7 separate regions of the Homo sapiens genome follow, and regions 1, 2, 3, 5, 6 and 7 are each linked to region 4. Evidence: promoter capture Hi-C in 16 types of primary human blood cells and fetal thymus (Javierre and others, 2016). All regions are on one chromosome and are shown on one strand. The core of a region is centred on a gene start or on the middle of the fragment in contact, and the rest is flanking DNA. Distances in the headings are between cores, read along the strand shown. Region 1 overlaps PRKCH (protein kinase C eta). Region 2 overlaps PRKCH (protein kinase C eta). Region 3 overlaps SYT16 (synaptotagmin 16). Region 4 holds the start of LINC03033 (long intergenic non-protein coding RNA 3033). Region 5 overlaps SNAPC1 (small nuclear RNA activating complex polypeptide 1). Region 6 has its middle 11 kb from the start of SYT16. Region 7 overlaps PRKCH-AS1 (PRKCH antisense RNA 1).

Evidence for each region. Contacts are between HindIII fragments. The CHiCAGO score rates a contact against its expected background, and 5 or more counts as called.
Region 1: a contact is called between a fragment that was not itself captured here and the fragment with the promoter of LINC03033 in region 4, in 1 of 17 cell types (activated CD4 T cells). The highest score is 8.1, in activated CD4 T cells.
Region 2: a fragment that was not itself captured here is called in contact with the fragment with the promoter of LINC03033 in region 4 in 1 of 17 cell types (activated CD4 T cells); the score reaches 6.6 in activated CD4 T cells.
Region 3: a contact is called between a fragment that was not itself captured here and the fragment with the promoter of LINC03033 in region 4, in 3 of 17 cell types (neutrophils, activated CD4 T cells and non-activated CD4 T cells). The highest score is 11.6, in neutrophils.
Region 5: a fragment that was not itself captured here is called in contact with the fragment with the promoter of LINC03033 in region 4 in 10 of 17 cell types (neutrophils, activated CD4 T cells, total B cells and 7 more); the score reaches 17.9 in neutrophils.
Region 6: a contact is called between a fragment that was not itself captured here and the fragment with the promoter of LINC03033 in region 4, in 9 of 17 cell types (neutrophils, activated CD4 T cells, non-activated CD4 T cells and 6 more). The highest score is 14.2, in neutrophils.
Region 7: a contact is called between a fragment that was not itself captured here and the fragment with the promoter of LINC03033 in region 4, in 1 of 17 cell types (activated CD4 T cells). The highest score is 8.9, in activated CD4 T cells.

Annotation. Positions count from the first base shown.
Region 1 is chr14:61,335,853-61,338,809 of GRCh38, reverse strand. All of the region lies in intron 1 of PRKCH (protein kinase C eta), which reads right to left. Among named protein-coding and RNA genes, the nearest start is that of PRKCH-AS1, 15 kb to the right of the region's middle. The HindIII fragment of the contact is 4,334 bases long and covers 1-2,957 here.
Region 2 is chr14:61,369,452-61,372,280 of GRCh38, reverse strand. The region is part of intron 1 of PRKCH (protein kinase C eta); the gene reads right to left. Among named protein-coding and RNA genes, the nearest start is that of PRKCH-AS1, 48 kb to the right of the region's middle. The HindIII fragment of the contact is 8,632 bases long and covers 1-2,829 here.
Region 3 is chr14:61,817,285-61,820,076 of GRCh38, reverse strand. All of the region lies in intron 1 of SYT16 (synaptotagmin 16), which reads right to left. Among named protein-coding and RNA genes, the nearest start is that of SYT16, 6.0 kb to the right of the region's middle. The HindIII fragment of the contact is 731 bases long and covers 996-1,726 here.
Region 4 is chr14:61,569,260-61,571,993 of GRCh38, reverse strand. It overlaps LINC03033 (long intergenic non-protein coding RNA 3033), which reads right to left and starts at 1,454. Exons shown (of 3, transcript NR_039985.1): 1 at 1,234-1,454. It overlaps LINC01303 (long intergenic non-protein coding RNA 1303), which reads left to right and starts at 1,341. Exons shown (of 5, transcript NR_110416.1): 1 at 1,341-1,508; 2 at 2,317-2,450. RefSeq lists a silencer at 2,164-2,356. The HindIII fragment of the contact is 753 bases long and covers 1,035-1,787 here.
Region 5 is chr14:61,773,470-61,776,262 of GRCh38, reverse strand. It overlaps SNAPC1 (small nuclear RNA activating complex polypeptide 1), which reads right to left. Exons shown (of 10, transcript NM_003082.4): 5 at 10-168. Among named protein-coding and RNA genes, the nearest start is that of SNAPC1, 12 kb to the right of the region's middle. The HindIII fragment of the contact is 1,248 bases long and covers 662-1,909 here.
Region 6 is chr14:61,800,330-61,803,321 of GRCh38, reverse strand. No RefSeq gene overlaps it. Among named protein-coding and RNA genes, the nearest start is that of SYT16, 11 kb to the left of the region's middle. The HindIII fragment of the contact is 1,819 bases long and covers 428-2,246 here.
Region 7 is chr14:61,318,830-61,321,529 of GRCh38, reverse strand. All of the region lies in intron 1 of PRKCH-AS1 (PRKCH antisense RNA 1), which reads left to right. It also overlaps a transcript of PRKCH not described here. Among named protein-coding and RNA genes, the nearest start is that of PRKCH, 1.4 kb to the left of the region's middle. RefSeq lists a silencer at 1-158. The HindIII fragment of the contact is 823 bases long and covers 849-1,671 here.

The DNA.
Region 1 (2,957 bases), core at 324-2,823, 230 kb after region 4:
AAACAGTTCAGAGAGAAAAATGCATATTGGAGTTCTAATGAGGCAACTTCAGGAGTCACTTATTTTGCCAGAAAAGGACAGTTTAAGGAAAATGAGTTTAAATGGCAACTTAAACTCAAGGTCACTTCAAGGTCACAGTTGTACCTAGATCTTGTTTATGCCCCCTGTTGGTGTCCTGTTCTTATCAAGCGCAGGCTGTCATTAATACATTCCTGACATAGTGTGTGCTGGATGATGGTTTCAGTCTCGCTTTTTCCCATTTTGAAATCCATCTCTTACCACCCAAACAAAAGTTAACATTTTGTTTGAGGAACCTAGGATTCAGCTAATCTTTTCACACACCTTTAATACTTATTTAAGTAATCAAGGGAATAAAAACCATACTGGTATATTCATTCTCTCTAAACTACTCCTGAGGCAGCTCTTAAACTCACACACACCAAAAAAAAGTAAATCTGTACCTGAATATGAATTTTTCAAGCGAAAACCTTTTAGCAAAAGTGTTTGAATCATGACTCAGACTCAAGACAGAGAATGGTAAGGAATGATAAGGAATTTTTCCTTTCTACAAACATTTCCTGAATCCCAAACATGTGCAGGGTACTTTACTAAGTGGTGGGGGAGGCTGGGGGTCCCTAATGTTCATGCAGATGGCAGTACTTCAGGGCTGAAAGCAGATCAGTGGCCAAGGTGAGGGCAGACACCCACAAACACATTCTCATTCACTCCAGACATTTGCAACAGCAGCGCCCCAGCAAATCAATACAACCACAACCCAGGTACAGGATGTGCATGACAAGAAGGCGAGGAGGCCCGGCAAGGAGACTCAAAAACAATATATTCTTGGCACAACCAAAGAGCTAACAAAGGCTTCTGAACAACCAAAACCAAGGCTACGCTAAACATCAAGTGCAAACACTGTTGTGCCGTACTATGAAGCAAAGGAAATTACTGTTCTGAAATATTGTATATATACAGTTCAGAAACCTTTCACTTAAAATCAACTGTGAAAGATCTAGGTCCCAGAACAAGTGTCCAGTAAACAAATAAAAGTAGAAATGATCACCTTCAAATGAGTCCCCAGGTGGGGCATGGTGGCTCATGCCTGTAATCCCAGCACTTTGGGAGGCCATGAAGGGTGGCATCACTCGAAGTCAGGAATTAGAGAGCAGCCTGGGCAACATAGTGAGACCCTACCTCTATAAGAAAAAAGGTTTTCTAATTAGCCAACCACGGTGGTGCACGACTGTAGTCCCAGCTACTCAGGTGGCTGAGGCAAGAGGATCAGTTGAGCCCAGGAGGTCAAGGTTACAGTGAGTTAAGATTGTATGTACCACTGCACTCCAGACTGGGCAACAGAGTAAGATCCTATCTCTGTAAAATAAAATTTTTTGTTTAATTGAGTCCACATAGGAAAAAAAGTACTTCATATTTTCTGCAAGCCAAATCAAATGTTCAGCCTAAGCAACATGGCAAGACCCTGTCTCTACATTAAAAAATTAGCTGAGCTTGGTGGCGCACGCCTATGGTCCCAGTTACTCAGAAGACTGAGGCAGGAGGATCACTTGAGCCCAGGAGGTTGAGACTGCAGTGAGTCATGTTCACACCACTACATTCCAGCCTGGGGGACACAGTGAGACCCTGTCTCAAAAAAAAAAAAAAAAAAAAATTGTTGGTGTCCTTGAATACATCTATAAATCCATATTCAAACGATGTACTTTTTTTTTTTTTTTTTTTTTTTTGAGACAGACTGTCACTTCGTAACCCAGGCTGGAGTCCACAATCTCGACTCACTGCAACCTCCACCTCGCCTCCTGGGTTCAAGCAATTCTCATGCCTCAGCCTCCCAAGTAGCTGGAATTACAGGTGCGTACCACCAAGCCCAGCTAATTTTTGTATTTTTAGTAGAGACAGAGTTTCACCATGCTGGCTAGGTTGGTCTCGAACTCCAGACCTCAAGCAATCTGCCCACCTCAGCCCCCCATAGTGCTGGAATTACAGGCATGAGCCACCACACCTGGCCCTAATGACGTACTTTTAAAACTAGAGTTTTCCTCCTTGAAAGCATGACAGAACAATTCACATCCACCAACTTGTATTGGATATTCAAACTAACCAAGGAAAATATATTTTAATGCCAATTGAAAGAGCCTGTTTACCATTATTTCCCTTAATTACAGCAATAAAAGTACTCACTTCAGCTTTTCAAAGGCCTCTTTCTGTCCTTTGCAGCTAAATATTGCAACTTGATTTATTTCTGGTTTGTTGGTTCTCACTAACTCAGACCCTCTGCTGTCCAATATTGAATAAGCAAACCAACAAACTTAATTTCAAGGTTTCCATGAACCAACTTTAGCCAACATTGTAACTATAATAATTCCAGCTTCATTTTCCCATATTCCTTACAAGAACTTCCAGAGAGGACCTATGTACAGAATTTACCCCCAATCCCTGTGATTCCGGGATAAGGAAGCCATCTTCTCTTCCACCAGTAACTAGAAATCTCCTACTGATTTACATTCCAGAATCCTACATTAAAAGCAAAACCAGTGAGGAAGTTGTACTCAAAAATCCCTTCTCTTGAATTCTATGTAAATAAATATCTTACTGCTTTCAAAGTTAACTTCAGAAAAGGGCTGGGCCCATCACTTCATATTGAAGTGCTGAGGGTAGAGTGGTGGTAATGAAAGTGACATCAACAATCATTTTTCTGCGGTAGTATATGTCATGCCCTGTGTAGATGGTTTACATAAGTCCTCACTGTGTTCTGAAGTAACCCTGTGAGGCAGGTACTGTGTTGTGGATGAGAGAACAGGCTTGCAGGGGTTAAATTATCCCTGCTAATGAGAGGCAGAATGAATAGCTGAACCCCAATCTGGCTGACACCCAACCATCACACTATGATGCACTGATAATTATGGTAGTTGTCCAATAAATACTCCTCAAAGCCTGTATTT
Region 2 (2,829 bases), core at 32-2,531, 200 kb after region 4:
AAAAGCAATGACACCTCAGTAGCAACAAGGACACGCAGTGCCCAGAACTTGGTTTCTAAAACCATTCTCCAACAAAAGGAACCAGGGTCCCTGGAGAAATAACTGATTCTAGGGATGGGGCAAAGAATATACAAAGTGAGCCAGGGGCATCTTTTAGTGCCAGAAAGAATAAGGATGTGATTTTAAAAAGCACACATGCAACAACAAAAACCCACCAGGATGGGTGGCATGTCACAAAGGGACACAGGAGCCTATTGAAACAGCTCCCAAAAACCAAATCTGAAACAATTTGAGGAGCACAATCATGTGATATTAGATTATAACCTAAAATATAAAATATGCATGAGTCCATACTGATACAAATAAATGATAGAATAAATAAATGGGGGAGAATAGACAAATCTCCCAAGCAGAGGAATTCCCAATAATTTCTCTAAATACTACCTCCCTCAGGGAGGTAGAGCATAATTCTCCACAACTAAAGTGTGAGCTATGTACAGTGACTTCCTTCCCAAGAGTACAGTATGGAAAGAAGGGGAAGAGGAACTTTATGTGAGAAATCTGACAAACATAATTTTAGCCATGCAATCAAGGTTCACATCAACAGTGATAGGTCGTTTTGATAGCATGTATGCATGTAAAAGCTAATTATGCAATTGATATGACATGATGGAATGAAATGTGGTACTATGCCTGCCTGTGTGGTCTTCCTCCCAAAACCCTTGAACCACAGGAAAAACATTAGACAAACCCAATTTGAAGGACATTCTATAAAATACCTGACGAGGACTTGTCAAGCTGTCAAGCTCACCAAAACCAAGGAAAGTCTGAGAAACTGTCACAGACTAGAAGAACCTAAGCAGACATATAAACATGATGTGGTATCTTGAATGGGATCCTAACACAGAAATGGAACAGTAGGTAAAATCTAAGGAAATCTGATAAACTATGAAGTTTAATTAGTAATAATGTATCATTATTGATTCATTAGCTGTGACAATGTAGCATACTAACCTAAGACATTAATAATACAGAAAACTGACTGTTGGGTATATGGGAATTCTCTGCACTATCTTCACAGTTTCTCTGTAATACTAAAACTGTTCTAAAATGTTTATTCAAGAAAATGCTTTTAAATAAAAACTGCCTTCACTGAGCCCTAAATCCAGGTAACTCTTAAAGAAATTAAATTCTAAATTAGTAACTGATTACTACAGGTGATAAATTTGGTTATTCACTAAATAGATGAAAAGAGAGCCAGAGGCAGCAGTGCAAAAGAATATCTGGCCTTTCTAGACTGTGTATGTAACATTCCCATGTTAACGTTAAGTCATCCCCTGTCCCAACTGTCTCCAGCTGGCCAGTGTCACAGCACATCCCATTTTGCGCTAGTTTCCATACTGCAGTGTTTGGTGTTATCCACACCCCTGGAGAAGACCCACAGTGAGAACCCCAAGAGTTTTCTATGAGTACTCCTATCTGCAAATTGTTTTCAGACAAGCTGTTGGTAAAGTATCTTCTCTTCAACTAAAAACAGAAGTAGAAGACAGAAATACAGAGAGCGAAGAAAGAGAAAAAAATCAGCTACAAACTACTTCCAATGAACATCTAACATAATGAGTACTTTCTGGAGCTAAGACTGACTAATATGAATGATATTGTGCCCATTACACTCTGATTTCAGGAAAAGTTGCAGAAAATCTGAACAGGAACTCCTCATCCAAAAATGGATACAAAGATTTGGAGCAGGTTTAATACAGATTGGGCCTTTCATTTTTCTACCCAGTGCTAAACCTCTCCCACCTCTCGTGGGTCAGAATTTCCTGATACACTTATTACAAATGCAGGCCCCACCCCCAGGCCTAGCAAACTGGCATCGCACTTAACAAACTCCAGGTGACTCCAGTAAAGTTGGGCAACCACTGTAGTTTGCCTTCACTGTTCTCATCACCACCTCATCCCTTCGCTTTTTCTCCAACAACCAAAGAAAGTATATTGTTTATGTATTAGGGTTCTCAGTTTTTAAAAGAACACACATGGCCGGGTGCGGTGGCTCACGCCTGTAATCCCAACGCTTTGGGAGGCCGAGGCAGGCGGATCACTTGAGGTCAGGAGTTCGAGGCAGCCTGAGCAACATGGTGAAACCTTGTCTCTACTAAAAATACAAAAATTAGCCAGGTGTGGTGATGGGCGCCTGTAATCCCAATTACTTGGGAGGCTGAGACAGGAGAATCGCTTGAACCTGGGAGGCGGAGATCACGCCACTGCACTCCAACCTGGGTGACAGAGCAAGACTCTGTCTCAAAAAGAAATAAAAATAAAAATAAAAAACCATACATACACACATATATATACACATATAAACATACAGATATATGCATATGTATTACTGCTTGTAGATACTATCTATGCATCAATAGTTTAAAAATAAAGTTCTGTTTTTTACCAAGAACTTTCTGTCACTTTCTTCCCAATTTTTTCTTTCCAATCCTTTGGTTAGTTGCTATTAATAATATAATTCTTCTGGGGAATCTACTCCCATAACTAATGCATTAAACAGTCAAAACATGTAATACTTTAGAGTTGATTCGAAAGACAAATGTCCAAGAAAAGAACACTGACTGCAATCATATTTCTCAATATATACTACATTCCACAAAACAGTCAGTATACAGGAACTTATATTGTGTAAACATGTAAAATCAGAATGGGGAAAATGAAATAGGAAATCAAGGCTGGGAAAAGTTAAGATGTAACTGTTAAAATTTTCTTAAAGTTGAGCTACAAATTTGAATCTGAATTTCTGACGCGAAGCAAAGCAAACAAAAA
Region 3 (2,792 bases), core at 112-2,611, 250 kb before region 4:
AATTTTATATTCCTCACACACAAAAAATGGAATCAATGACTAGGCACCCTGTTTCTGAGTCAGATTGTTCTCATAATATGAGGTACACCCTATGGGGAGGTACACGCCATTGGAAGGATCTTGTAGCAGGTAAAGGGACAGACATTTATTAATGCATATGTTGTGCCAGCAACTCTGTTCCATCTCTTTTACTCCTTGTAATTCCTCAGAGTGGAATAAGACAAAGCCTCCGGGAAGTTAAACAATTTACCTCTTACCCAGCCTTTGAGTGGCAGGACCAGAGTTCACGACTCAGGCACCTCTGGAACCAGGCCTGTGCTCTCTTCCACCATACCACACTCAGTTCTTCAATCTTTTGCAATTTCTATTGAGCTAAGCCAATTGAAAACCTCCTTGTAATTGGTAGGTTATCTGTATGGTGCTCTTTTGAATTAAGTATATAAACCAGGGGCATTTTCATGCAGGGTGGGTAAAATCATTTTATGTCTCTTAATCTTTGCTCCATTGTGAGTAAAATTATAGAATGTGACTTATTATATTCCTAAAATTAGACGCCAGAAGAATATTATATTCTCACAATAAGAAAATTTTATTCTAAAGGGGTAATATCCATCCATAAATGTAAACTACCTAAAATCAGATATGTATAATCCTTAATGGAAGGATGACAGCTGTGCATAAAATTTTTTTTGTAATATGCACTTCAGATACCTCTCCAATCTACTAGAAAGCACTGTCAGTGAGTTTGATTATCATCTTAATATACAGACAATTGTTAAATGGCATAATAGCCATCTTATCATTCATAATGCTAAATAATAGTTAATGACTAAATAATACCCTAGTGATCTAAAAGGACAAATGTCATCCAAATCTACTATACTCAGGAGAAGGGAAGGTTTATTCCTCCCAAGATGTCTGTCCCATTTCTTTTATAAAACATATAGACCAAATTTTAGATTCATTTAGAAACTCAGGTTGGTCAAGAAAAAGCTTTACTGGGTTTACCAATTCAAAGATGCCATGGTGAAATGAAAACATAGGAATTCTATTCAAACAGTATGAAATTATTTATGCTGATTTACTCTTAGAATGTTTCAATAAGATAACATCAACTGGGTAAATCAGTTGAGAATATTGCCACCATAACCATATTTATGTTTTCTTCTAGAATTTAATTCTTGGTTTAAAAACAGGAGGAGCAGTTTAGCAAACAAAACAAGAACAAGCAGGTTCACAGACCTTTTCTTCTACACTGTTTATAATTACCCAGGCTTAGTCAGCTTTTCAAACTTAAAACAAGTGCACAGCCCATATATGTCAAATCAGTACATTCCTCAGAACTCTGCTATTCTATAACATTAATAATATCTAAATGCTGTTTTTTTTTTTTTTTTTTGAGACAGAGTCTCACTGTGTCTCCCAGGCTGGAGTGCGGTGAAGCAATCTCGGCTCACTGCAACCTCCGCCTCCCAGGTTCAAGCGATTCTCCTGCCTCAGCCTCCCAAGTAGCTGGGATTACAGATGAGTGCCACCACGCCCTGCTAATTTTTGTAATTTTAGTAGAGATGGGGTTTCACCATGTTGATCAGGCTGGTCTCAAACTCCTGACCTCATGATCCACCCGCCTCGGCCTCCCAAAGTGCTGGGATTACAGGCGTGAGCCACCGCGCCTGGCTGCTGTCATCTATTATTGCAGAATTGCTACTGAAGTCTGATAAAAGCTTGGGGATTATGAGGAGGGAAGTATGCACAGAGGGGCAGTGAAGCATCATGATGTCTTGGATTTGCCTTCAAAATGCCTCTCCCAGAAAAGTGGGGGTGGAGGTGGAGATGGATGCAACAAGCCTGGTGAAATACCAACGCTCATTAAAGCTATGTGACCTGGATACATGGGGGTTCACTATACTATTCTCTCTTCTTGTGTATATGAAATTTTCCCTAATAAAAAGTTTTGTTAACATTATCACTTCACAACAGAATTAGGAGTCCAACGTTATTTATTTCAAAAAGTAAACTCAATAGTATTAGACCATAAAGCCTAGAATACAGATTAATAGCTCAGTGCTTTCATTTATAAACTCCCTCCCCCAAATTCGCAGAAAAGCTGCAAGAACAGCACAAGGAACTCCTAAATTTACCAAATGCTAACCTTCGGCCACCTTTGCTTTCTCTCTCATATGATACACATATACATATAAATGCACACATACATGCATATATCCTTTTTTCCTAAAGCCTTTGACATTTAGGTACAGATATCATGTCCCATGTCAACCACAATAAAAATATCAAATTTAAGAAATTTAACACTGATACAATGCTATTATCCAATATACAAGCCATATTCAAATCTCACCAATTATCACAACACTGTCCTTTGTCGCATTTTTTCCCTCATCTAGGATATAACCTGAAATCATCCATTGCATTTAGTGGTCTCTTTAGTCTTCTTCAATCTGAACAGTGCCTCAGCCATCTTTCATGACACTGACTTACAGAATGTCTCTTGATTTGCCTTTGTCTGATGTTTCCTCGTGATCAGAACCAGGTTATACATTTGTGGCACAGTAAGTGGCATTGTGTCCTTCCCGGTGCTTCCTATCAGGAAGTACAGGATATCAGTTTGTCCCATTATTCTTTTTTTTTTTTTTTTTGGAGATGGAGTTTTGCTCTTGTTGCCCAGGCTGCAGTGCAATGGCGTGATCTCAGCTCACTGCAACCTCTACCTTCTGGGTTCAAGAGATTCTCCTGCCTCCGCCTCCCAAGTAGCTGGGATTACAGGCGCCTGT
Region 4 (2,734 bases), core at 205-2,704:
GGATGAGCCAAGGACTGCTACTTAGAGACTACTGTCTAGGTCAACCCAACTGGCATAAGTAAAGCACCTACTGTTTATAGTAGGAGGCTGCAAGATAACAGGAGATGCAGACTATTGAAGGCTACTGATCTATCTGTGTAGACAGGCAAGAATAAAACAACTGGAGAAGAAATCCAGGATTACACAAAAAGAAGAGCGTGATGGTATGGTAGACTACTCCAGAACAGTGAATTTCCCCTGCATTAAGGATGAGATCCCTATGAATTGGGATCATTCAGGAAGTCTTCTTGGAGAAGAAAAGTTTGAGCATATGGGGAAAAAAAGTTGGATTGGCAAAGAGCTGAGCTGTCAGTAGCTGGGTCCTTAGTAAGTAGGCTGCATGGAGCTGGGAGTTATGCTAAAGGAGTTGTAATTTGGGATGCCTCTAATTAACCATTTTGGGAAAAATATAATAAATCCCTTTGTAGCATCTATAATAAACTGCCCAATATCTATGTGGTGGGGAAAAAGTTTTATTCTACGTTTCACGTGGATGGTGATAACACTAGGTAATCTCAGCATCTTTCTTATTCTCTTGCTAATCCAGGATTCTAAGTAATAATCACTTTGTTCTACAACCTGAATCTAGCCCTTGTACTGTGCAGTTTTTTTCTACACTTATTTTTCCTGTTGTCTGAATCAATCTCCATGGAAGCATAAGTTTTACTGAGTTTCAACCAGCTGTGTCCACCGAGGTAAAGATGGTAAAAATAAAAGGCACAGGGCATATATACCACAGCAGCAGTTACTTCCCACAAGGAACCAGAGATTGGAAGTGAAGCTAAAACATTTTCAGCTACGATAGCATCTCTTTCAAGGTGAGCCATTTCCCCAGGGAGAGTTTCCAGCTCTTAGCAAAGGCAGAACAATAAAACATCAAGGATGTCTTTCTAAGGCTGCAAACAGAATAGCCAATACCTTGAAGCTGATCTGCTTCAGAGTCCTTTAAAAGCCAGGACAGCAACAAAGTGCCCACATTACATTTTCTACAAGCTTGCTAAGCATCTCTTTTCCTAAACCACAAAACCCGAGACATTTCTACAGAACAGGCAGAAAGGGAAGTCCTGGGAGATCAGGGCCCTGTCTCAGCAGGCATCACTCCAGCCTGTCTTTTCCCGAGTGGTTTTCTGCACTTCTCTTCCATCTTTTCCCCTCTGTCCCACACTGGAAGTCACTAGTCTGTGCCCTCCTTACCTCCCATGGTTTCTGCACCTTCATTTCCAAAGGCAAGTGAAAACAGTGCCAGGCTGCGCACATGGGTTACTCCAGGGACTTCTCTTCCCGTTTCCCCTAAAGCATTTGACAGTTAGATCTTGGAACTGAGTCCAGCAGCACTGAGGTCAGAGAGATGGCTAAAGCTAAAAGCAAACTGGATGCTGTTCAGGAGGTTCTCCTTTGTCATTTTTATCTCCAAATAGAAGACCTCTGTTTTCCCAGAAGATTAAATAGTAGAAAAGAAGTAGCCCAAGGTGGGTGACTCTGCAAACAGGTGGGTGAGGTCTCTAGTTGAGTGAGGGGGTGTCTGTGGGTTGTGGGTTCTTCTTATGAGCAGAGCTTGGAGGAATTTGTTCTATTTGTTGTGGTTTTCCCAGGGGGAAGTCGGGGGTGGCTGGGACTCTAATGATCATTATCAGAAGACTTTGGATTAGGCCTCTGAAACTTTAAGATGTGGATCCTCTCGCAATCATGTTAAAATGCAGATCTCCTTTCAATAGGTCTGGGACAGAGCCTGGCTTTTCTATAAAGCTTCTGGTGATGGGATGTCGCTGGTTCTCAGCCACAATTTGAGTAGCAAGAGGTTAGCTTTTCTACTTACTGCCTTCATATCCCCAGTTGGGCTATGTCGTTTTATCAAAACAATGTGGTAAGAGTGAGCGCCAATTACTAGCCTGTTGAATCATCCATTGTTAGAGCTGTTTCTTTGAGGTACATTTAAGAGGCCCCTCCCTGTGGTTCCCCATTGCACAAGAAGCCCATTTGCCAGGCAATACCTTGGGCAAGCAAGCCACTGTGCAAAATTGCATTGGCTCTTCCTGCTGCCAGCCAGGCGGCTGCTGGTTGACGTTGGAGTTGTACAGTTTATGTGATAGTGATGACAGCGCTGGCTCTGAAGGGTACTGAAGATTTTGAAGGGGTACTTCGCTGCAGCAGCTTCACCTCTCACTTTTGTTTACCCACCCCCGAGGCTTGTGGGAGAGAAGGATCAGGCAGAGCTCTGCACGTGCCATGCCAGGGGTGGAGGAATTATATTTTTATTTTTTGCTTTCTCTGCTACAGGACATACCATGCCTTTTACAGATATTTATAGGACAATTTCCCTCCTGAGAGTGCCCAAGCATGGGGGATGGTGAGGAAGATGACTGAAGGAGAAAGCAGGAAAAGGGGGTGTCTGCATGTATGAGGATTGGAAGGTGGGGAAAACCCTTCGTGTTTGGTTCAGCCTTCAAGAAAGAGGAGGGGTTGACTAGATTACAGATGTTAAACCAGGGGTCTGTGGTTCAAACCAGCAACTCTCTGCCCTTGTAAGCTGTATCTGGCTGGTGTGTTAATTTGTCTAGGGTAAGAGCCCCTAGGTTTCAACAGATTGTCCTAGAGTCAATGATACACAAAAGGTTAATCAGCCTCATTTCCAATCAGGATCATCTGCAAGTCCCTCCCAGAGCAGATATTTGGAGCACTAGGCTTCTAGAAGCAG
Region 5 (2,793 bases), core at 36-2,535, 200 kb before region 4:
ATTGCATACCTTTCTGTCTTTGTGCCACTGCTGATGCTCCAAAACTATGTTCTTAATATTGTCAAAAAAATCATCCTTTATCAAGCTGAGGGCTTTATCTGGCTTGGACTTATCAACTGAAATTACATGTTTCATGTTCTGATAATGATCATGAACATTCAGCATTTCCTAAAAGCAAAAAGATGAGTCCTTTATTTCTTCACTTTTTGAGGAGAAACTAAAAGGCAAAACCAACACAAAATAGTCACCTTCCAAAGTGACTTCCAGTTGATAGGTAATAACATGCTATAGTATATTAAAAATAACATAATCATGTAAGCAAAATAGTACAACTTCATTAACATAGAGGTGTGGATTCCAGAGGTATGGATTTACTGACTTACCTCAACAAACATTAACTAAGATATAAGATACACTTATGGGGAAGACATTGGGGAAAGACAAATCAGTTAACATAAAATTCCATTCTAGAATATCACAATTATTTGTAGCATGACATATCATTAAATATCACTACTGATAACTAAGATATTTTTATATCATATTGTCACATCAAGAATATTTACATAGTCCTTTATGCTCTGCTGGAAATTCCTATGTAACGACTCTCATCCAACCTGCCACAGAAATCCCAAAACGTATGTGCCTGTTCCCATAAGCTTCCCCATTGCTTCAGCGATAACATTCAGGATTAAAGATATAGAGGGTAGGCCAGGTGTGGTGGCTCACACCTATAATCCCAGCACTTTGGGAGGCCAAGGTGGGAGAATCACCAGATCAGGAGTTCAAGACCAGACTGGCCAACATGGTGAAACCCCGTCTCTACTAAAAATACAAAAATTAGCCGGGTATGGGGGTGGGCGCCTGTAATCCCAGCTACCTGGGAGGCTGAGGTAGGAGAATTGCTTGAACCCGGGAGGCGGAGGTTGCAGTGAGCCAAGATTGAACCACCACCGCACTCCAGCAGGGGTAACAGAGCAAGACTCCATCTCAAGAAAAAAAAAAAAGAAAGAAATAGAGGGTGATTTATGACACCATTTGTGGCATTATTTATTAGATCTTCTTCCTCCAAAAATCTCCAGCCAAATGGGCAGATCTGTGGGGTAAGGAAAAAGACAGCATACCACAGAGTGGACTTAAGAAAACCTGGCATAGGGACTTGGCTCTAAGATCAAGAGAGAACTACTGACACTTCCATCACAGATGGACATTGCAACATCTGAGTCATCCCTAACTCAGACCACTCAATTCATTTCCAGATTTTGGTAGAATCAACACCTGTTCAAGAAATGAGAAACTAGGCCAGGCACAGTGGCTGACTCCTGTAATCCCAGCACTCTTGGAGGCCAAGGTGGGCAGATCACCTGAGGTCTGGAGTTCGAGACCAGCCAGACCAACATGGAGAAACCCCGTCTCTACTAAAAATACAAAGTTAGCCGGGTGTGGTGGCACATGCTTGTAATCCCAGCTACTCGGGAGGCTGAGGCAGGAGAATCACTGGAACCTGGGAGGCAGAGGTTGCGGTAAGCCAGGATCGCACCATTGCACTCCAGCCTGCGCAACAAGAGTGAAACTCTGCCTCTCAAAAAAAAAAAAAAAAAAAAAAAAAAAAAATGAGAAACTGATCAATAGTGGTGAGTGAGTGCTCATATATGCAGGATCTGCAATGGGAGAACAGTGTCCAGACATGGAGAGCCCCTAACTCTTTACAGTTTACATTGGCTATACTCTCATTATTTTTACTTCATGTGATAGAGAAAGACCACCAGTCAGATCTAATTTTTGAGTCTGAGCTCTGTCATTTGCTCAATGGATGACAATGGGGAAGTCCCTCAACCTAAGAATCATGTTCATGTTTCGCATTTGTACAAAATGAACAAACCCACCATTGTTAAGTATTAAACAAGCTTATACAGGTGAAAGTATTCAGTAGAATGTAAAGCACTATAGAAGATTAAAGAAGCCAGGCACAGTAGTGTGCACCTGTAGTCCCAGCTACTCAGAAGCCTGAGGCATGAGGATGGCTTGAGCCCAGGAATTCAAGGCCAACTCAGGCAACACAGCAAGACCCCCACCTTTAAAAAAAAAAAAAAAAAAGAAGAAGAAAATTAAATAAGAAATAAAAGACAGTGCATGGACTTTGGAGCCTTATAGACTTGGACATTCAAACATAGTGTCTGTACCTTATTGTGCCTCACCTTATACAAACTACTTAACTTCTCTAAACCTCAGTTTCCTTATTTTTAAAACTGGGGGCCGTGCACGATGGCTCATGCCTGTAATCCCAGCACTTTGGAAGGCCGAGGTAGGCGGATCACCTGAGGTCAGGAGTTCGAGACCACCCTGGCCAACATGGTGAAACCCCATTTCTACTAAAAATACAAAAAATTAGCCAGGCATGGTGGCGGGTGCCTGTTGTCCGAGCTACTCGGGAGGCGGAGGAAGGAGAATCGCTTGAACCTGGGAGGTGGGGAGGTGGAGGCTGCAGTGAGCCGAGATCGTGCCACTGCATTCCAGCCTGGGCAATAAAAGGGAAACTCTGCCTTAAAAAATAAAAAAAAAAAAAAGGCCAGGCATGGTGGCCCGCGCCTGCAATCCCAGCACTTTGGGAGGCCGAGGCGGGCGGATCATGAGGTCAGGAGATCAAGACCATCCTGACTAACACGGTGAAACCTTGTCTCTACTAAAAAAATACAAAAAATTAGCTGGGCATGGTGGCAGGCGCCTGTGGTCCCATCTACTCAGCAGGCCGAGGCAGGAGAATGGCATGAACCCAGGAAGCAGAGCTTGCAG
Region 6 (2,992 bases), core at 88-2,587, 230 kb before region 4:
TTAAAATCAGACACACCATAAGAAGTTCAGGTCCAACAAATCTTGTGGGTGTTGCCTTCCCTAAAAGTGATCAACTAGCTAGGCAGAATGGCTGGCACCTGTAGGCCCAGCTATTTGGGAGGCTAAGACAAGAGGATCTCTTGAGCCCAGGAGTTCGAGACCAGCCTGGTGGATATTATGAGGTCTCATTGCAAATAAATAAATAAATAAATGTTGTCAACTGAAGCTAACATAGCCCATTTAATTGTTACGGTGTTGAAGTATTTAAAAATTAGCCTGCAGGTAAAGTAATTACATGAAGGTTTTCTTTTTTATTTGTCTTAAGTAAGGTTTTTTAAAACCTCATATTAAAGTGCCTGCAAGAAAAAAATAGTGCATATAAAAATATTTTCCTCAGAGCATAATCTGTAATTAGCCTGATCAAGCTTTGTAGCTTGCAACCAAGAGCAAATTAATAACATAATTGATTCTATAGTGCTTAGCATTTACGGAAGATTAGCCTCCTTGAAAAATCAGGGATTTTTACCCTATTTTCAGAAGTGCGTCAATTTATTTCAAGCCATTAGGTTAACAAGACACTAAATTATGATCAAATAGCATTTGGGTGACTTAAATGAGTTAAGTCATACTCCCAATCTAATTGGAATCTTCGTAAATTAGGAGACACCCTGCACAAATCCAGGGAAGATGGTTCAGTAACTTCAGGGTAAATAGGGGGATGTCACCTAATGATTACTTTCCGTGATAGCAACTGTAAGGGATTCAATGCTGTAAAGGAGATATGCATGTTTATACAACTTTACCTGAGTGCACTCCCCTGTCCATGGCACTGGGCAGGTAGGACTCAGGCAGAATGTCATAGTCTTACCTATCTGAGGAGTCAGAGAATGGAGTTTGGGCTGTCAGAGTGGTTAGAAGTCAAGATGGGAAATCCCTAAAAGGAGCAATCATAGAAACTCCAAAATCTGTGTATAAAATCCCCTCAGATCTTTGGCTGCAAGCAAGGCAAAAACCCCCATGATTCTAGGGCAAAGAGCTAGAAATCTGAAAGTCCCGAGTGGGTATTTCAGCAGCTGACCACCCAAAGGTCTCCTGAGTTCAAAGTTCAAGTCTTGCAAGAATAGAGTGATGTGGCAAACACTTCACGGTTTCCATTAAACTTCAAAAAGCCCACACCTTAGATTTAGGGACCACTTCCAGGACTAAGGGATTTGCCCTAAAACTAAGGATCAAGCTGAATAGATCCACCCTGACAAAGCCTACAATCAAGCCCCTTTAAGTATAAGATGCTCTGTCATAACTTAACTGCCTTATAGAACAAAACTCAACACTCTTTAGAGGAAGGTGATAGAATTCAGAGTCCCTAACATGTATTATCATACAATAAAATATTAGTAGACAGGGAAAGAAACATGAAAATGTAAACCACAGTCAATAAAAAAATAAATCGGTCAATAAAAACAGATATACTCTTTGGGGGAAACAGACATACTGATGCCCCCAATGTTGAAACTAGCAAACACTTCAAGGTAGCTAAATTTGCTAAACTTATAGCACCTACAGTATAAATTTATAGTATCTATAAAATAGTATAAACCTACAGCAAAAAATGTTATAATTGGTGAAGAAATGGGACATTTCAGTGCAGATATGAAAACCATGAAGAAGAACCAAGGAGAAATGTTAGAACTGAAAAATACTACATCTAAAATTAAAGTTATTGAATGGGATTAACAGCAGATTGAATACAAAAGAAGAAATAATTCATGAACTTGAAGACAAGTCAAATCATTCAATCTGAAGCACGGAGAGAAAAATTACTGGGGGTGTGGGAGGAAGCCACAATAACATTTGGGACAGTATTAAGCAGTTAACAGACATGTAATTGGAGTCCTAGAAAGAGAAGCAAGTGAGACCAGTACAGAAAAACATATACAATATACTGGAAAAATTAACTGCACTAGGCACATCATGCAAATGGCTGAAAATAAAGTAAAAAAAAAAAAAAAAAAAAACTTAAAAGTGGCCAGAGAAAAAGGGCGTGTTATATACCAAAAAATGGGTAAGAATGAAAACTTCTCATCAGAAACAATGAAGGCTGAAGACATGCAACAATCCTTAACGTGATGAAAGAAAAGAGGTGTCTACCTAGAATTCAAATCCAGGAAAAATATCCTTCAAAAATGGTTAAATAAAGACTCAGAAAAACAAAATCTGATAGAATTGATCTCCAACAGAACTAAGCTTCAATAAATTAAAAGAATGTCTCCAGGCTGAGGGAAAATTGTCCCAGGTGAAAGCATAGATTTGCATGAAGGAATGAAGAGCAGTGGATAAGGTTCCCATGTGGGTAAATGTAACAGCTTTTTCTCCTATTTTTTCCTTTATTTAAAGTAAGAATATAACTGTATGATGGGGTTTATATCATAGCAGTAAAATATGATGACAATATCTCAAAGGATGGAAGAGGATAAAATGGGATATATCCATCCCTAACTTACAGGTAGATTTTATTACGTCTCATATGCAGATTGTAATCTCAGAGCAAATCCACGCTGTCTGATACTCTTCCACTGTGCAATGCTGCATCAACTGAACTTTTTTTTTTCTTTTCTCTTTTTTTTTTTGAGATAAAGTCTCACTCTGTCCCCCAGGCTGGAGTGCAGTGGTGCAATCTTGGCTCACTGCAGCCTCCACCTCCTGGTTCAAGTGATTCTCCCACTTCAGCCTCCCAAGTAGCTGGGACTACATGCACGTGCCATCACACACGGCTAATTTTTGTGTTTTTAGTACAGATAGGGTTTCACCATGTTGGCCAGGCTGGTCTTGAACTCCGGACCTCAGGTGATCCACCTGCCTCAGACTCCCAAAGTGCTGGGATTACAGGCATTAGCCACCATGTCCAGCCAAGTGAACATTTTTGCCATTACTTGTTTACATTATGAAGTTAAAATATTTACGACTGTGTTTGCCATCATTATCATTTCCATCA
Region 7 (2,700 bases), core at 11-2,510, 250 kb after region 4:
CGCGGTCCGCGGCCCGGCCCTGCGGTGGGTGGATCCCCGCGCAAGCCCCCGGGAGGCCAGTGCCCGCTTGCGCCGCCCTGCGCGCCCTCCTTGTAGCGCTGGGTCTGGCCGTGCGCTGCGGGTTAGGGGCCACCCCGGGCGCAGGCCAAAAAGGAAAGGGTTCGTGGCCCAGCCCGAGCAAACACCTGAGGCGTGGTAGACTGACCTGGGGAGCGATGGAAGGTTGGGAGGACGCAGAGGAGGGCGCTCCAGCCAGGAACCCGCGCGGCGAGGAGTCGCCCGCCCCCTCTCTCCCAACCTCCCCGGTGGGCTGGTGACCCTGCAGGGCCATCCCCAAGAGGCCCTGGCCGGAGGCGGGGGCACGGCGGGGAGGTTCTTTTTCCTAATATTTACAGGGATGGCTCATCCCGGGGTCAGCTCGAACGCATCCTGTTTGTGCGCCTTTCCTGCAGAGGCTAATTACACAGTTGTGTGTATGTGTGTGTTTTAATAGGGCAGTAGTAATGATGGAAATCCTGTTCGCCTCCTTCCTCGGAAGGTGTGTCTTGTTGCACATAGAGCAGGAAAGGTCGGTTCTTCTGGAGACAGACATGGCCAAGAGGTAATAAGTCTCTTCCTCTGCGGGTGGTTTCTGGTCCACCCAGCTCTGCGCGGCAAGGGCAGAAAATGTTCACACACACAGGCTGTCCCCAACACACACGCGGAAGAAATTGCCTCTTCTAGGAACACTCCAGCTTGTTGTATTTGCAGTCAGAGTGGGCAGCCTTCTGATGCTTCCCACCCCGTGGTCCCTGCAGATTTTGTCTCCGGGGAGGACCTTTTAGCCTACGCTGCTATGCCGCAAAGCTTGCTCCCTGAGGGCCAGCCACAACCAATTTGTTCCCCAAAAAGCCTAGGCCACTTTTTGTTGTTGTTGTTGTTGTTGTTTTTGAGACGGAGTTTCGCTTTTGTTGCCCAGGCTGGAGTGCAATGGCGCCATCTCGGCTCACCGCAACCTCCGCCTCCCAGGTTCGAGCGATTCACCTGCCCCAGCCTCCCGAGTAGCTGGAATTACAGGCATGCGCCACCACGCCCGGCTAATTTTGTATTTTTAGTAGAGACAGGGTTTCTCCATGTTGGTCAGGCTGGTCTCAAACTCCCGACCTCAAGTGATTCGCCTGCCTCGGCCTCCCAAAGTGCTGAGATTACAGGCGTGAGCCACAGCACCCAGCCAAGCCTAGGCCACTCTTAAGATACTTGATTACATTCTGTCTTGCTATACTGGTTCCCTCGGAGCAGATTCGGCTTGCTTTCATTCCTTTCTTTCTTCCTTCCCTCCTTTCTTTCTTTTATGTTTTAGAGACTGGGTTTTGCTTTGTCATCCAGGCTGGAATACAGCGGTGTGATCATGGCTTACCATAACCTCCAGCTCCCAGGTTCAAGTGATCTTCCAGCCCCTGCCTCCTAAAGTGTTAAGATTACAGGCATGAGCCCCCGTGCCTGGCCCCAGGTTCATCTTTCTAGCCCCCACTCCTCTAAGGCCCTGTTCAGAACTTTCTAATTGAGTAGGTTCTCAACGATTTCACATGAGTGCAAGGAGGCCTGACCCGTAATAACAGCACTATACAGAATGAAAACAAGTAAGGACAATGGGCCAGGGGGGAAAGGGCCTGTCTTGAAAACACCAAAGCTTCCTTAGAGAACAAGGCAGGGATGCAACGCATCACTCTAATGACATCTTAGCTTTAGGCAGGGCTTGTAAAGCCTGCTCCCAAACGTCCAGGGGGCTCCTGTTTGGCCTTAGTGCTCCAGGGGAAGATGTCGCATCTACCCTGTGGGTCAGCTCTGTCACCCTTTCCTCCAAACAGCTGAACTCTAGCTTTAAGAGCCACTAAAGGATTTGCTCCTGTTGGACTTTGGGGCTAAAAGAAAACAGTCCCCATACAGAATCATGGGGTGTAGACTTTAAATTTTTTTTTAAATTTTAAAAAGAAAACAGTCCCCAAATGGTAGGTGGCCACACAGCTGTCCTGGGACTGGGATATGACGATACCAGACACTCCATCTTCACCCTATCAGTACCTATCAGGATTGGCAATGGTGACAGAGCAGTGGGTCAGACAGCCATGGTGCCTGCCCTCCTGGGGCTTACAGTCCCACAAGGAGGAAAAACAACTAATAGAAGAGGGTGCAGTGAAGGAAAAGCCCACGGTGCCAAGGGGTGATGTATTATAACTGGATGGGTGGTCAGGGAAGGGTTCCTTGAAAAAGCAAATAGCAGAGAGATCAGCTCATTGAGAGCTCCTGAGGAGACAGATGGGTTGGCCTGTTTGGGAACCAAAAGCACCCTACGTGGCTGGAGCTGAGGAAGGCGTGGCTGGAGCTGAGGAAGGTGAGGGGAGAGTGGCTGAAATGAGCTTGCAAAGGTGGTCACACTGACCAGACTGGTAGATCACAGGAAAGCCTTGGACATTATCTATGGGCCACTGGACGCCTCTGAAGGCTGTTAAGCAGAGCCAGGGTAAGATGAGGATTTGTGTTTTAAAATACCTCTCTGGGGACAGGCAAGGTGGCTCACACCTATAAACCCAACACTTTGGGAGGCTGAGGCAGGAGTACTGCTTGAGCCCAGGAGTTCAAGACCAGCCTTGGCAACATGGCAAGACTGTCTCTACAAAAAATAAAAACTAAAAAAATTAGCTGGATGTGGTGGCATGTGCC